Linked DNA regions of Homo sapiens: all the other regions are linked to region 1. The links are contacts of gene promoters, found by promoter capture Hi-C in blood cells and fetal thymus (Javierre and others, 2016). All regions are on one chromosome and are shown on one strand. Each heading gives the region's core, a stretch centred on a gene start or on the middle of the fragment in contact. The rest is flanking DNA. Distances are from core to core; before and after follow the strand shown. Region 1 holds the start of PEX26 (peroxisomal biogenesis factor 26). Region 2 holds the start of IL17RA (interleukin 17 receptor A). Region 3 overlaps HDHD5 (haloacid dehalogenase like hydrolase domain containing 5). Region 4 overlaps CECR2 (CECR2 histone acetyl-lysine reader).

Region 1 (2,963 bases), core at 139-2,638:
ACAGTCATTCCATGAGCAAGTTACACAATGTAAAATAAGGACATTGTGAAAAACAAAACCATACCGTACATAATGCACTTTATAGTAAAGTACTGGGAACAGAGTATTTGGTAAATTGTAACTATAATAATAATTTTAAACAGATCCACAAATCACACTTATTATTATATTCTGTTTCACCCGGGCTTTGCCAAGCTTCCCACATTTGTACTAGATCCTCTTGGCTTTAGTTTCTCCCCAGTTCTCTACCCTTTGAATTCACTCCAAAGCTTCCCTAGAATCTTTGCTCTCCTAGAAATTAGATTAAACAGGCACCTGCTCACATCATACATCCCCTGCCCTTGTCACCAGACATGCACACATCCATCTTCTGGGATTTCCGTTCTCTTGCAGAAAAGTCTGCATGGGAAGCTGAGGCAGAACCAAGTCCACCAGACTCCGAGGAAAGAGAAGTCTGGACCCTGTAACCAGATAAAAGTGAAACCAGGACTTCATTTATTCCACAAATACTTTTTGACTACCTATAGATGACAGGCACTGTTCAAGGCATTGAGGTTCCCACAGTGAACAAAAGAGACAAAAACGTCTGCCTTTGTGAGTTTATATCATAGTGGAAGGAAATAGACAATAAAAATAAGTAAAATATAGACATTGGTATGTAGATGGTGATAAATGATAAGGAGAAATATAAAGACAGATCGGAAGTGACAACAGTGGGGAAGTGGAATTGGTATCTGCATTTAACGTTGTTTTTTAACAGCAAATTCAGGATGGGGCAGAGAGCAGTGAGAAAAATGAGGCCCTTATGCTCAGCGCCCCCAACCCCGCCTCGGTGGGGTCACTATTCATTTTGGAACATTGCCCTTGGGACCAACATATTCTCAGTGGTCCTTGTGAAGGTTTCCACCCTAAGTCCCTCATCCTCACCAGGCAATATTCATTACCCTACAGCAAACTCCGGAGGCAACGCGGAGAAAGTGTGAATCAATTCAAGACTAAGGTTGCCAAAATGTTTGATCAGCTCTGCGTCAGCCTTGACATTACATTACATTACAGATCCCCTGATCGCCACCGTCGCAGAAGCTCTGAATTAAAAGCGTGCATGTAGCTGCACATCCATTGCTGGCACTTCTTCCGTTAGCCTCCGCTGGAACTGGTTAGTGAGGACCCCTCCATTTCACAAGACAGCTTCGGTTTTGCTTCGTTTTGACTTCCGCACCCCGAAGCTGTAGCACCAGTTTGTTTTCTCACGGCACAGGGGCGGCTTCCGGGGCGCGGCGTGCTGGGGGTTGTAGTCCGCGCTCTGCCTCCTACTTCCATTACAGAAGGCGATGGGCCGAGAGCTGAGGAACTACAACTCCTAGAGTACTCCGCGCCGCCGGGACGCCGCGCGGCTGCGGGGCTGGGCGAGCGCAAAGATGTCCGCGCCCGCTGCCGGGAGGCGAGGTGAGTCTTTGATCGTAACCAGGAGCCCGGAGCTGAGGCAGTTCCTGCACGTGTCGCGGGGCCGGAGAAGCTAGGGCCAGGTATTCCAGGGATGCAAGAATCCTGCAAATCTGACGTGTAAACTGCTTCCCCAGCCTCCAGGCGAGCCCAGCTTTTGCCTCAGATAGGCCCCTTCCTTTTCCTTCTCGGGGAATCGACCTCGGGAAGGGGTGTGGGCAAAGAGATGAGGACTCTCCCTCTTCGCCCAGGCCAACTCGGGATATCCCGGAGCCTCTGGGGAGGCGGTCACTCCGACGTCTGAGGACCTGGGCCTTGGACCCGGACTCGTTATGAAGAGCGATTCTTCGACCTCTGCAGCCCCCCTCAGGGGGCTCGGGGGACCCCTGCGCAGCAGCGAGCCGGTGCGCGCGGTCCCGGCCCGGGCGCCGGCCGTGGACCTTCTGGAGGAGGCGGCCGACCTCCTGGTGGTGCACCTGGACTTCCGGGCGGCGCTGGAGACCTGCGAGCGGGCCTGGCAGAGTCTGGCCAACCACGCCGTGGCAGAGGAACCCGCGGGCACGTACGTGCTGGGCTCGGAAATGAACCGATTTCCGGGCGCTCTTGTGGTGGGGCTCAAGGTCTCAGGAGTTCTGTCCTTCCCAGATTGCCCACAAGGAGCTTTACACCTCGCTTTCATCAGTGGTTTGTCTCCGAGAGGGTGGTCGCTCATCGTGTGCCCATTCTACAGAGAAGGGAAGTCGTGTAACAAAAACTTAGTGGGGATCCCACAGCCAATTATTTGCTCCTTGTTCCAAGGTACAATGACATGATGGGAAGGCTGAATGTGTATTAAGTGCTAAGTTCTGTCAGTAAGCAGGTGGTAAAAGTCCTCTCCCAGGTACCTCCGCCCTCCCCGCCCCGCCCAAGGTTGTTTATTCCTGACCTTGGCTGATGATGGGGAATGGGGGTCATGGCAGGAGCAGCGTTCTGGTCCAATTAGAGGACTGGATTAAAGAATTAATTCAGGGCCGGGAGCTGGGGCTTACGCCTGTAATCCCAGCACTTTGGGAGGCCGAGGCAGGAGGATTGCTTGAGCCCAGGAGTTCGAGACCAGCCTGGGTAACATAATGAGCCCTCTTCTCTACCAAAAAGAAGAAAAAGAAAAGAATCCGGAGAAAAAAACCTTGGGCTTGCATTGCTCTTTCTAATGCCACCAGCCTCGTCTGGCAGGTGAGGGAGTCATTTCTTTGCATTGTAAACTTGGGTTAGGCCACGCTAGGGAGGTGGTAGGTAGAATAGCTAAAGTTGACCACAAAGAAGGATGATCTGGAGAGCCCTGGCTGTGTTTTAGGGGACTGGGTGGGAGCTCATTTCAGTGAATGCAGAAGGCTTTGCTTCTGGGTGTCTGGAGGAACCTTACTAGGTGGTGCCTTTTAGCCAGCTATGGAGTCTATACCTCCACTCAGCCAGAAACCTTGCTCCAAGCCCATTTGTTCACAGAGCAAACTCTTAGTTCCAGCTCTCTTTTCAGCCACACA
Region 2 (2,963 bases), core at 160-2,659, 990 kb before region 1:
GACTTAGGATGGAGAATTTTAGATGTCATCTTTAAAATGCATGAGAGGATGCAGTTTTCCAAAATTCTTTTAGAAACAGACAATTTGAAGGCCACTGAGCTTCAGGCTTCATTCAGCTGGGTCGTGTCTGCGGGCGGGGCTCATAGAGATGTCGCTGGGGGTCAGCGGGTGCTTCGGGCAGCGAAAAAACCCACCTCTCGAGGGCAGTGGAAAATACAGGGAAAAGCCACTTGAGTGTAGACTCCGTGCGTGTCAAGGCCAGGCAGAGGCGCACTTGATAGGCAAGGAAAAGCGGACGGTGGTGGTCTTGGGAGGAAGAGAGGAGAGGCGAATGGGCAGGAGCGTGTGGATGCACTAGGGCAGGACGGGCTCGAAGCAGGAACCTAGGATAGAGGCAGCGCGGGCCGGCTTGGGAGGGTCCTCCAGGGTCCGGAGAGGAGAGGACGCAGGCTGCACGCGTGCTAAGAAGGAGACTCATGAAATGTGTAATTCGCTGGCGACAGCTTCCGCGGCCGTGGAGTGAGCCTCTGGGAAGTAACGACTCTCTTAGGTGCGGCTGGGACACAGTCTCACAGACCAGGTAAGTTGCCTGCCCTCCAGGAACTCAAGTGTCCCCGAGTCCGAGCCAGGAGGCTGGAAGTGACTGCTGTCCCATCCTCCCTGGAGCCCGGAGCTGTCCTTGTCTTGAGAAAGAGAAAGCAAAGCCAAGGAAAGCAGAGCGAGCAGAACCAGGCAAAGGGGTGGGGACAATAAAATGGGATATGGCCCGCGCTTCCATCTACTCAGGAGGCAGAGGCAGGAGGATCGCTTGAGCCCGGGAGGCCGAAGCTGCAGTGAGCTGCGGTTGCACCACTGCACTCCAGCCTGGGAGACAGAGGGAGACCCTGTCTAAAAATAAAGTAAAATAAAAAACAAAAATAAAAGGGACAGAGACTAAGAAAACGGACTTCCTGAAATCCCAAGTTGGGATTTCACGTCCAGTGACCCACAAGAGAAGCAAGAAGTCTGAACAGGGCCAAGAATCAAGTGAGTGGGGGCGGAGGATTAAAATCGACAGTTGCTGCGGCACGGCCAGGGTGGAGGGTGCATGTGGGGCAGGCGAGGCTCCAGCTGGAGTTGACGCTAGCCCGACGCGGGTGCAACTGGAGGCGCGACGGGCCAGGCCCAGGAGCAGCGGGAGGAGCGCACCTGGGGCGCGCGGGCGGAGGAGGGCCGGGGAGGGACGCCGGAAGGACTGGGTAGGGACGCCCGGAGGACTGAGCGTAGGGCCGAGAGGAGGGGCGCAAGGAGGAACGGGGGGAGGGCCCTGTCTCACCCTAAACCCCTCCCCGTCCCAGACTAAACTCCTCCCCTCGGCCCGGCCCGCCCCTGGGCCCGGGCTGGAAGCCGGAAGCGAGCAAAGTGGAGCCGACTCGAACTCCACCGCGGAAAAGAAAGCCTCAGAACGTTCGTTCGCTGCGTCCCCAGCCGGGGCCGAGCCCTCCGCGACGCCAGCCGGGCCATGGGGGCCGCACGCAGCCCGCCGTCCGCTGTCCCGGGGCCCCTGCTGGGGCTGCTCCTGCTGCTCCTGGGCGTGCTGGCCCCGGGTGGCGCCTCCCTGCGACTCCTGGACCACCGGGCGCTGGTCTGCTCCCAGCCGGTGAGACTCGACGTGGGGAGCGGTAGCCGCCAGGATGCTGCGGACGCGGGGCAAGGTCGCGGAGGGCCGGACGGTCGGGACTACGCGCCCGGGCTGGGGAGGCAGGAAGTCCGCGCCGCGGGCTTAGAGGGGCTCAGAGCCTTGGGCACAGATATCGCGGCGCCTGGGGAGGACCCTCGGAGCGGTGGGAGTTGCGGTGTGGAATACGGGGGGGGTGGGTGGCACATCGCGCGGCGCGTGTTGCACAACCTGGCCCGCCGTCGTGACTGGAGGCGGGAGTGACACCTCCGCCCGGGCCGCGGAGTTCGGGGAAGGAGGGCGCGGCGCTGGGCCAGGCCGGAGGGGCGGCCAGGGCTGATAGAAAGGGGCTGTGGAGAAGGGGCCCGGGGAGGAGCCAGGACGGGTCTGGACCCAGCTCCACGCCTTGCGCCCCTCACGTACCCCGGCGGGGCACGGTCGGCCCTCGGGAGGCCCATCGCGCCCTCGGGAGCTTCCCTCAAGCCGTGCCCTTCATGCCGCCGACGGAGCCGGGCGAGCCCACGTCGTCCGTGCGGAAGGTGGAGTCCCTCACCCGCGGCCCCCAGAGGGACCCCGCTGTCGTAGAGCCACGCGGGGGCCGGAGCGCTGAGACGCGGCACCATGTTTCGGGGAGAGCTCTGCCGAGGGCGGCTGAGGGCCACCTCCCCAGAGGCGCGAAGCCCTGAGGATGGGCAGATGGTTCTTAAGACGGCGCCCTTCCCGCCACTCCCACCCCCGACTACCACCACCTGGGTCTGGGAACCCGGTGAGAGCGCAGTCGGAGGGTCGAACGTTTGTAGCTGTCAAGTCGTAGCCCCGCTGCGCCCACAGGAAGTGACCCACCCGCCTGCCGGGTAGTGGCCTTTCTGTGAGCCAGGACCATCTTAAGGAAAAAAACAAAAAAAGAGCAAAACGCCGTGCCCCTCCACAATATACTCTCCTCTTCCCCGCATCCCCGAGGGGATCTTTCCTCCCCTCCACCTCCACCTCCACCTCCACCGCTGACCCCAAGGAATAATGCTCAGTATCTGAGTCAGAGGATGTAAAACAAAGGGATATTTCTCCTTATGTAGTTTTATGGAGGATTTACCGAAAGAAGGTGGAGGGTGAGTGACTATGTCGCAGAAAAAAAAAAAAAGATGTTTTTATCGTGAATGATGTTGAGAAATGTCCTGTGACTTCCACTATTGGGCAAAGCAGGTCCCTCTGCCCTGCTAGTCCCTCCTGCAGGCTGTGTATGAAGCGTTCTGATATGGAGGGTTGGTGCGCCTGGGTTGACAGCCATTGGTCAGGTGCCTGCAGAGTA
Region 3 (2,963 bases), core at 151-2,650, 920 kb before region 1:
CTCTATTAAAAATACAAAATTAGCTGGGCGTGGTGGCACATGCCTGTAATCCCAGCTACTCGGAAGGCTGAGGCAGAATTGCTTGAACTCGGGAGATGGTGTTTGCAGTAAGCCAAGATCACATCGTTGCACTCCAGCCTGGGCAACAAGAGGGAAACTCCATCTCAAAAAATAAATAAATAAAAACAAAAAATAAATAAATAAATTTTTAAAAGGCCTAGATTTTAAGTGATATTAAGGAATTACTAATGTTGTTAGGTATGATACTGGCATCGTGGTTATGTTCAGAATGTCCTTATTTTCTTTTTTTTTTTTTTTTGGTTGAGACAAGACAGGGTCGCACTCTGTCACCAAGGCTGGGTGCACTAGTGTCATCTCAGCTCACTGCAACCTCAACCTCCTGAGCTCAAAGGATCCTCCTGCTTCAGCTTCCCAAGTAGCTGGGACTACAAGTATGTGCCACCACATGCCTGGCTAATTTTTTTTTTTTTTTCTTTTGTAGAGACAGGGTCTCCCTATGTTGCCCAGGCTGGTCTGGAACTCCTGGGCTCAAGTAATCCTTCCAACTCCCAAAGTGCTCAGATTACAGGTGTGAGCCATGGCACCCAGCCAGAATGTCCTTATTTTTCTTAGAGGTACACACAGAAGAATTTAGGTTTGAAATGACAAGAAATCAGAGATTTACTTTAAAATCTTAGAGCCACAAAAAAAGGAGGAGGGAGATAAGCAAAGCAGGTGTTGAAAAATGTTAATCATTGCTCAATCTGGGAGATGGGCACAGGGGTTCATATTATTCCCCATTTTTGAATTTTTGAAAACTTACATAGTTAAAAAACAGCTCATTTGTACAATGGTTGCAAAATTTACCATACATAGTTTTAACGGTCATTGCCTAAACAGTCACAAGATTTGCTTTCCTTTTTTTTTTTTTTTTGTTTGGTTGGTTTTTTTTGAGACGGAGTCTCACTGTCACCCAGGCTGGAGTGCAGTGGTGCAATCTCGACTCACTACAACCTCTGCCTCCTGGGTTCAAGTGATTCTCCTGCCTCAGCCTCCCAAGTAGCTGGGACTACAGACGCGCGCCAACACACCTGGCTTATTTTTTATATTTTTAGTAGAGACGGGGTTTCACCATATTGGCCAGGCTGGTCTCAAACTCCTGACCTCGTGATCCGCCCGTCGCGGCCTCCCAAAGTGCTGGGATTACAGGCATGACCCACCGCGCCCGGCCCAAGATCTGCTTTCTTAAAAATAAGAATCCATAGCCCCTGCTACTTAGAACAGCAAAGTTTTCAGGAAAATTGAGCAATATCCATAAGGCTCCCTCACCCATCACTCCAACCCCTCCCCAACCTTCAGGATGTACACAGAGAACCAGGCACCCAGTACCATAAAAAGTGAAGGTGTACATCAATTATAACAAATGTACCACACTAATGCAAGATGGTAATACAGTCACGCACCATAACGATGTTTCAGTCAATGACACACTGCATATACAATGGTCCCTTAAGATTATAATGGAACAGGAACTCATAGCTGAAGAAGAGGCAAGAGAAAAGGTAGCCACAGAAAGAAAAGAACATCCAAGAAAATTCACAGTGAAGGGTTCAGCAGCTTTTACAGACCTCAAGTTCCTTAAAAAGTCTGAAACATGAACTCCAACGCCAAAAGGTTTTCATTACTAGAGAAGAATGTTTATGGTACATTATCTGTTTACAAGCAAACCTATGACAAAAAAAAAGAAACCAAGCAAACCACAATGGACATATTTCTGATAAGAGTGACACCTCAAGAGCCTCAGAGAGGTCCTTCAGAAGATATCCAGAAGAAAGCACTGTTATCGCAGATGACAGTTCCATGCATATGACTGCCCCCTAAAGACCTTCTAATGGGACATGGTGTGAAGGCAGAAGACAGTGATATCAATTACCTGACCCGACCTTATGTAGGCCTGGGCTAGTAGGTGTTTGTGTCTTCATTTTTAACAAAAGTTAAAAAAAAAAATTTTTTTTAAGGTAGGGCACTGTGGCTCACGCCTGTAATCCCAGCACTCTGGGAGGCCAAGGCGGGCGTATCATGAGGTCAGGAGTTCGAGACCAGTCTGGCCAACATGGTGAAACCCCATCTCTACCAAAGATACAAAAAATTAGCCGGGCGTGGTGGTGCACACCTGTAATTTTTTTTAATAGAAAAAAGCTGCCTGTAATCCCAGCATGTTGCAAGGCCAAGGAGGGCAGATCACGAGGTTAGGAGATCGAGACCATCTTGGCTAACACAGTGAAACCCCATCTCTACTAAAAATCCAAAAAATTAGCCAGGCGTGGTGGCAGGCACCTATACTCCCAGTTACTCCGGAGGCTGAGGCAGGAGAATGATGTGAACCCAGGAGGCAGAGCTTGCAGTGAGCCGAGACCACGCCACTCCACTCCAGCCTGGGCAACAGAGCGAGCGAGACTCCGTCTCAAAAAAAAAAAAAAAGCTGGCTGGGCACGGTGGCTCATGCTTCTAATCCCAATACTTTGGGAAACCAAGGCAGGCGGATCATGAGGTCAGGAGTTCGAGACCAGCCTGGCCAACACAGTGAAACCCCGTCTCTACTAAAAATACAAAAATTAGCTGGGCGTGGTGGCAGGCGCCTGTAATCCCACGTACTTGGGAGGCTGAGGCAGGCGAATCACTTGAACCTGGGAGGCAGAGGTTGCAGTGGACCGAGATGGCGCCACTGCACTCCAGCCCGGGCAACAGAGCTAGACACCGTCTCACACACATACACACACACACACACACACACACACACAAAAGAAAAAAGCTATGGAACAATGATATAAATGAAGATATATTTAGTACAGCTGTACAATGTGTTGTGTTTTAAACTAAGTGCTATTACAAAAGAGTAAAAAATTTTAAAAATTAAAAACTTGGTAAAGCAAGAAAGTTAAACTAAGGTTAATTTTCTTTTT
Region 4 (2,963 bases), core at 303-2,802, 520 kb before region 1:
TAAGCATGCTTTTGGGATAGTAGAAGAGTCTCTATGAAATATTAATCTGCCCTAGTTTCTTATAAATTCAGCTGTGGGAGGGGCCAGTAGAGTGTTTCCCTCCAATTCCAGGATTCCTAGTGAAGCATGGAACTGTCGTGTTTACAGTTTGCTAAACATATGCTGTCCGTGGAAAAGGAAGCTAATCGGAAGCATCCATGATACAGAGAAATGAAAGCCAAGACACCAGTTCCAGGATGATGGAAGTTCATATCCGTACGCAAATGCTGAACCTGGTGCTGCTGCCTAGGGCTCAGGCAGATTTGAGAGTTGAGTAGGGAACACAGGTGCCTCTAAGGTATAATGCACAAAAATACAGATTTTCTCTCAGAGAGGTTTTAATTTTAAATTTGATGTATTTGCAAGTGGATTGAGTTTTGAGCCTGTGTTCTCACTGGATCCTAATTCTTGTTAGAAACCTATCACTGGCATAACCTGGTTTAGAAGAGTGAAGAGGACAGAAGGATTGTGGATGGGTCTGCCCTTTAGCTAGTATCCGCTAACATGGGGCATTACTACTTCAGTTTCTGTGTTTGTGCAGAAGCAGGGAGGAGGTAAAAAGCTAGTTTGGAGCTGGTTAGACCTGGTCTAGGCCCAGAGAATTTGGCCACTGACAGCCTTTCTCTTTTCCTGGTAATGCTGGTTTGAATCAGAGGCCTCTCACTTCTCCTTAACAGGAGCACTGACACTGTGGGCCTCTCCCCATGACTACCCCAGGGGCCTGGGTGGGAGTGGCTGTAAGCAGCAGTTGGGCCATTGCCCCCTTTCCTTCTGCCCTCGTGGTCCTTGAGCAGTTGTGTGCACACTCTTCCAGGTAATCCTGTCTCCTCTCTCTCCCAGTGACCGCCCCAATCAGCTGTTGCTAGAGCGATGCTGTGAACGATACAGGAAAAGTCAGTAAATCCCTTTATCCTTAATCTCCCTTCTTGGTTTTCGACAGAAAATATTAAGGAAGAGCAATAGGAAATAGAACTACTGTATTATAACACTGTGAACAAGAACATCAGCAGCAGCAGAATTGTCAGCCTTCCTGCGTCCTGTGTGGGAATGTGTCCATGCCTTATAGGTACTAGTGCTTCGTCCATTGTCCAGGGAGTGTCCTGAGCTTTCACTGGTCTTTGAAGTGCAGATCTGCTATAAGCTGTCTGGAGCTGCAAGGTTGCAGGAATCCACAGGAGCGTGAGCTGCTGTGAACCCCTAGCCCACCCATCCCCAAGCAGGATCTTCTTCTCACCTTTTCTTCCTCCTCTAGCACTTCTCTTTCCAAGTGTCTTAAGCAGATGCAATGTCTTAAAGCAGATGCAAATGCATTTGCCATCTTCTCCATTAGGAAAATGATGGTTATGTGATATGTTATATTTAGGAAGTAGTGTGTAAGGTATCCTGAAAAGGTTTGCTCTCAAGCTAGAAGGACATTTCACCCTGTGGGTCACTGTCACCTTGTCAGCGTGCCGGCTCTCAGTGGTCCCCAGGAGGATGGGGATAGCTGAGATCGTGGAGAATGGGAAATACCATTGCATCTCTTTGATTTAACACTCATGGCTCACCTTTAGTAGAGTTGTTAATAAGTTAGAAACTTGTGTCCCTAAGGCCCAAGAGAAAAGATGAGCTTCTTGGGAGGATTCTGGGTTTGTTTTCCCCTCAGAATTAAAAAATAGTTTTTAATTCAGCTACTTTTTCCCCTCAGTTAAAAGGTAGCAGGAGCTATTGGCTGAAATTTGTTACAGTGAATGAATGTGGAGAATAAATAAGAACAAACCCTGTAGGATTCTTGTTGACGTAACTTTCCATCCCACCTCTCCGCCTCTCCTTCATCACCAGCCTTCATCAGGTTGGTTTAGTTTACCTGGCCGTACACACGAGCTGCTCATCAACAGTTCGTATCTTCTCACTGAGCCCGGGCCAGATGCTCTCAGAAGGCCTTCTCATGCTCCTCTTCGTTAGGCTTAGTGAAAACCTTAAGACCTGCAGTTTGTGCCCCTCAGTTCAGTCAGACCTCAGCTTTAAATGTCGATTTACTCTGTCTTGTTCCCTGAAAGTGTTTCTTGTGACTAAGCATTTGGTGTCATTATCCCATGCCATTTATCTGCTGTATAGTTACTATATTATTTTTGCTGATTCCTACTGCTGGCAGATGCCATCCCAGGCCCACAAAATCCCAGTGTTGCAGTCACCACAGCTGTCAGAAACAAGTTTGCAATCCATACTTCTTGGTTCAATTTTTTTTTTTAATGGACATTCAAATCTGTAAATACTACACTGCTCTTAAGACCTGATTTGAAATTTCACAGGAAGGCCTAATCCTATAGTCACAAGGTAAGGACAGTTGAGTAGTGTAAGAACCCCAACCTGCTTGCAGAGAACCTTGGTTTTCATAGAAAGGAAAGGCTGAAGGTTTTCTAGCATTGTTGCCCTTCTTTGTCTGTCAGTCAGTTCACCCTCTGTGATTCTCCATGGACCCGCATTGCAGAAAATCAGTCCCATATATTAGTGAGCCATGTACTGCCCAATCCGGGGGCTCCTGGGGTGTGGTGTGTCCACCAGTGACTCTCCGGACACTAGCTTCAGTAAGGATACTTCTTATTTCGGTTGAGAATGCAGAGGCTTTTATTCGTGGACTCACATCACTGCATAGCACAAAGAATGTGATTGCCATTTGCTGCGTGAGAAAAAGCTGGGCTCCCTATTTCTTTTTTGGGTTGGACTCTGCCGTGCAGCCATAGGACACCAAGCCTCACGCACTTTCCCCTTGGGACAGTAGTGTTTGGGTGAATGTTACTGCATCCCGTTTTTTTTCTTTTCTTTTTTTTTTTTTTTTTTTTGAGACGAAATCTTGCTCTTGTCCCCCAGACTGGAGTGCAATGGCACGATCTCGGCTCACTGCAACCTCCACCTCCCAGGTTCAAGGGATTCGTCTGCCTCGG

What was found. The method cuts DNA at HindIII sites, captures the fragments that hold promoters and counts their contacts. A CHiCAGO score of 5 or more calls a contact.
Region 2: a contact is called between the fragment with the promoter of IL17RA here and the fragment with the promoter of PEX26 in region 1, in 4 of 17 cell types (fetal thymus, total CD8 T cells, monocytes and 1 more). The highest score is 7.9, in fetal thymus.
Region 3: a fragment that was not itself captured here is called in contact with the fragment with the promoter of PEX26 in region 1 in 2 of 17 cell types (total CD8 T cells and fetal thymus); the score reaches 6.3 in total CD8 T cells.
Region 4: a contact is called between a fragment that was not itself captured here and the fragment with the promoter of PEX26 in region 1, in 3 of 17 cell types (megakaryocytes, M2 macrophages and endothelial precursors). The highest score is 8.3, in megakaryocytes.

What each region holds. Positions count from the first base shown.
Region 1 is chr22:18,076,602-18,079,564 of GRCh38, forward strand. It overlaps PEX26 (peroxisomal biogenesis factor 26), which reads left to right and starts at 1,389. Exons shown (of 5, transcript NM_001127649.3): 1 at 1,389-2,005. The coding sequence starts at 1,776. LOC105372853 (a long non-coding RNA gene) reads left to right here. Exons shown (of 6, transcript XR_001755424.2): 6 at 1,057-1,295. RefSeq lists enhancers at 1,063-1,122, 1,453-1,682, 2,163-2,212 and a silencer at 1,753-1,802. The HindIII fragment of the contact is 13,258 bases long and covers 268-2,963 here.
Region 2 is chr22:17,083,591-17,086,553 of GRCh38, forward strand. IL17RA (interleukin 17 receptor A) reads left to right here and starts at 1,410. Exons shown (of 13, transcript NM_014339.7): 1 at 1,410-1,639. The coding sequence starts at 1,502. RefSeq lists an enhancer at 470-639 and silencers at 1,193-1,412, 1,433-1,552, 1,803-1,902, 1,943-2,192. The HindIII fragment of the contact is 13,521 bases long and covers 1-2,963 here.
Region 3 is chr22:17,154,314-17,157,276 of GRCh38, forward strand. All of the region lies in intron 1 of HDHD5 (haloacid dehalogenase like hydrolase domain containing 5), which reads right to left. Among named protein-coding and RNA genes, the nearest start is that of HDHD5, 3.5 kb to the right of the region's middle. The HindIII fragment of the contact is 5,617 bases long and covers 1-2,963 here.
Region 4 is chr22:17,554,305-17,557,267 of GRCh38, forward strand. CECR2 (CECR2 histone acetyl-lysine reader) reads left to right here. Exons shown (of 19, transcript NM_001290047.2): 19 at 1-2,963. Among named protein-coding and RNA genes, the nearest start is that of SLC25A18, 7.7 kb to the right of the region's middle. The HindIII fragment of the contact is 4,426 bases long and covers 1-2,963 here.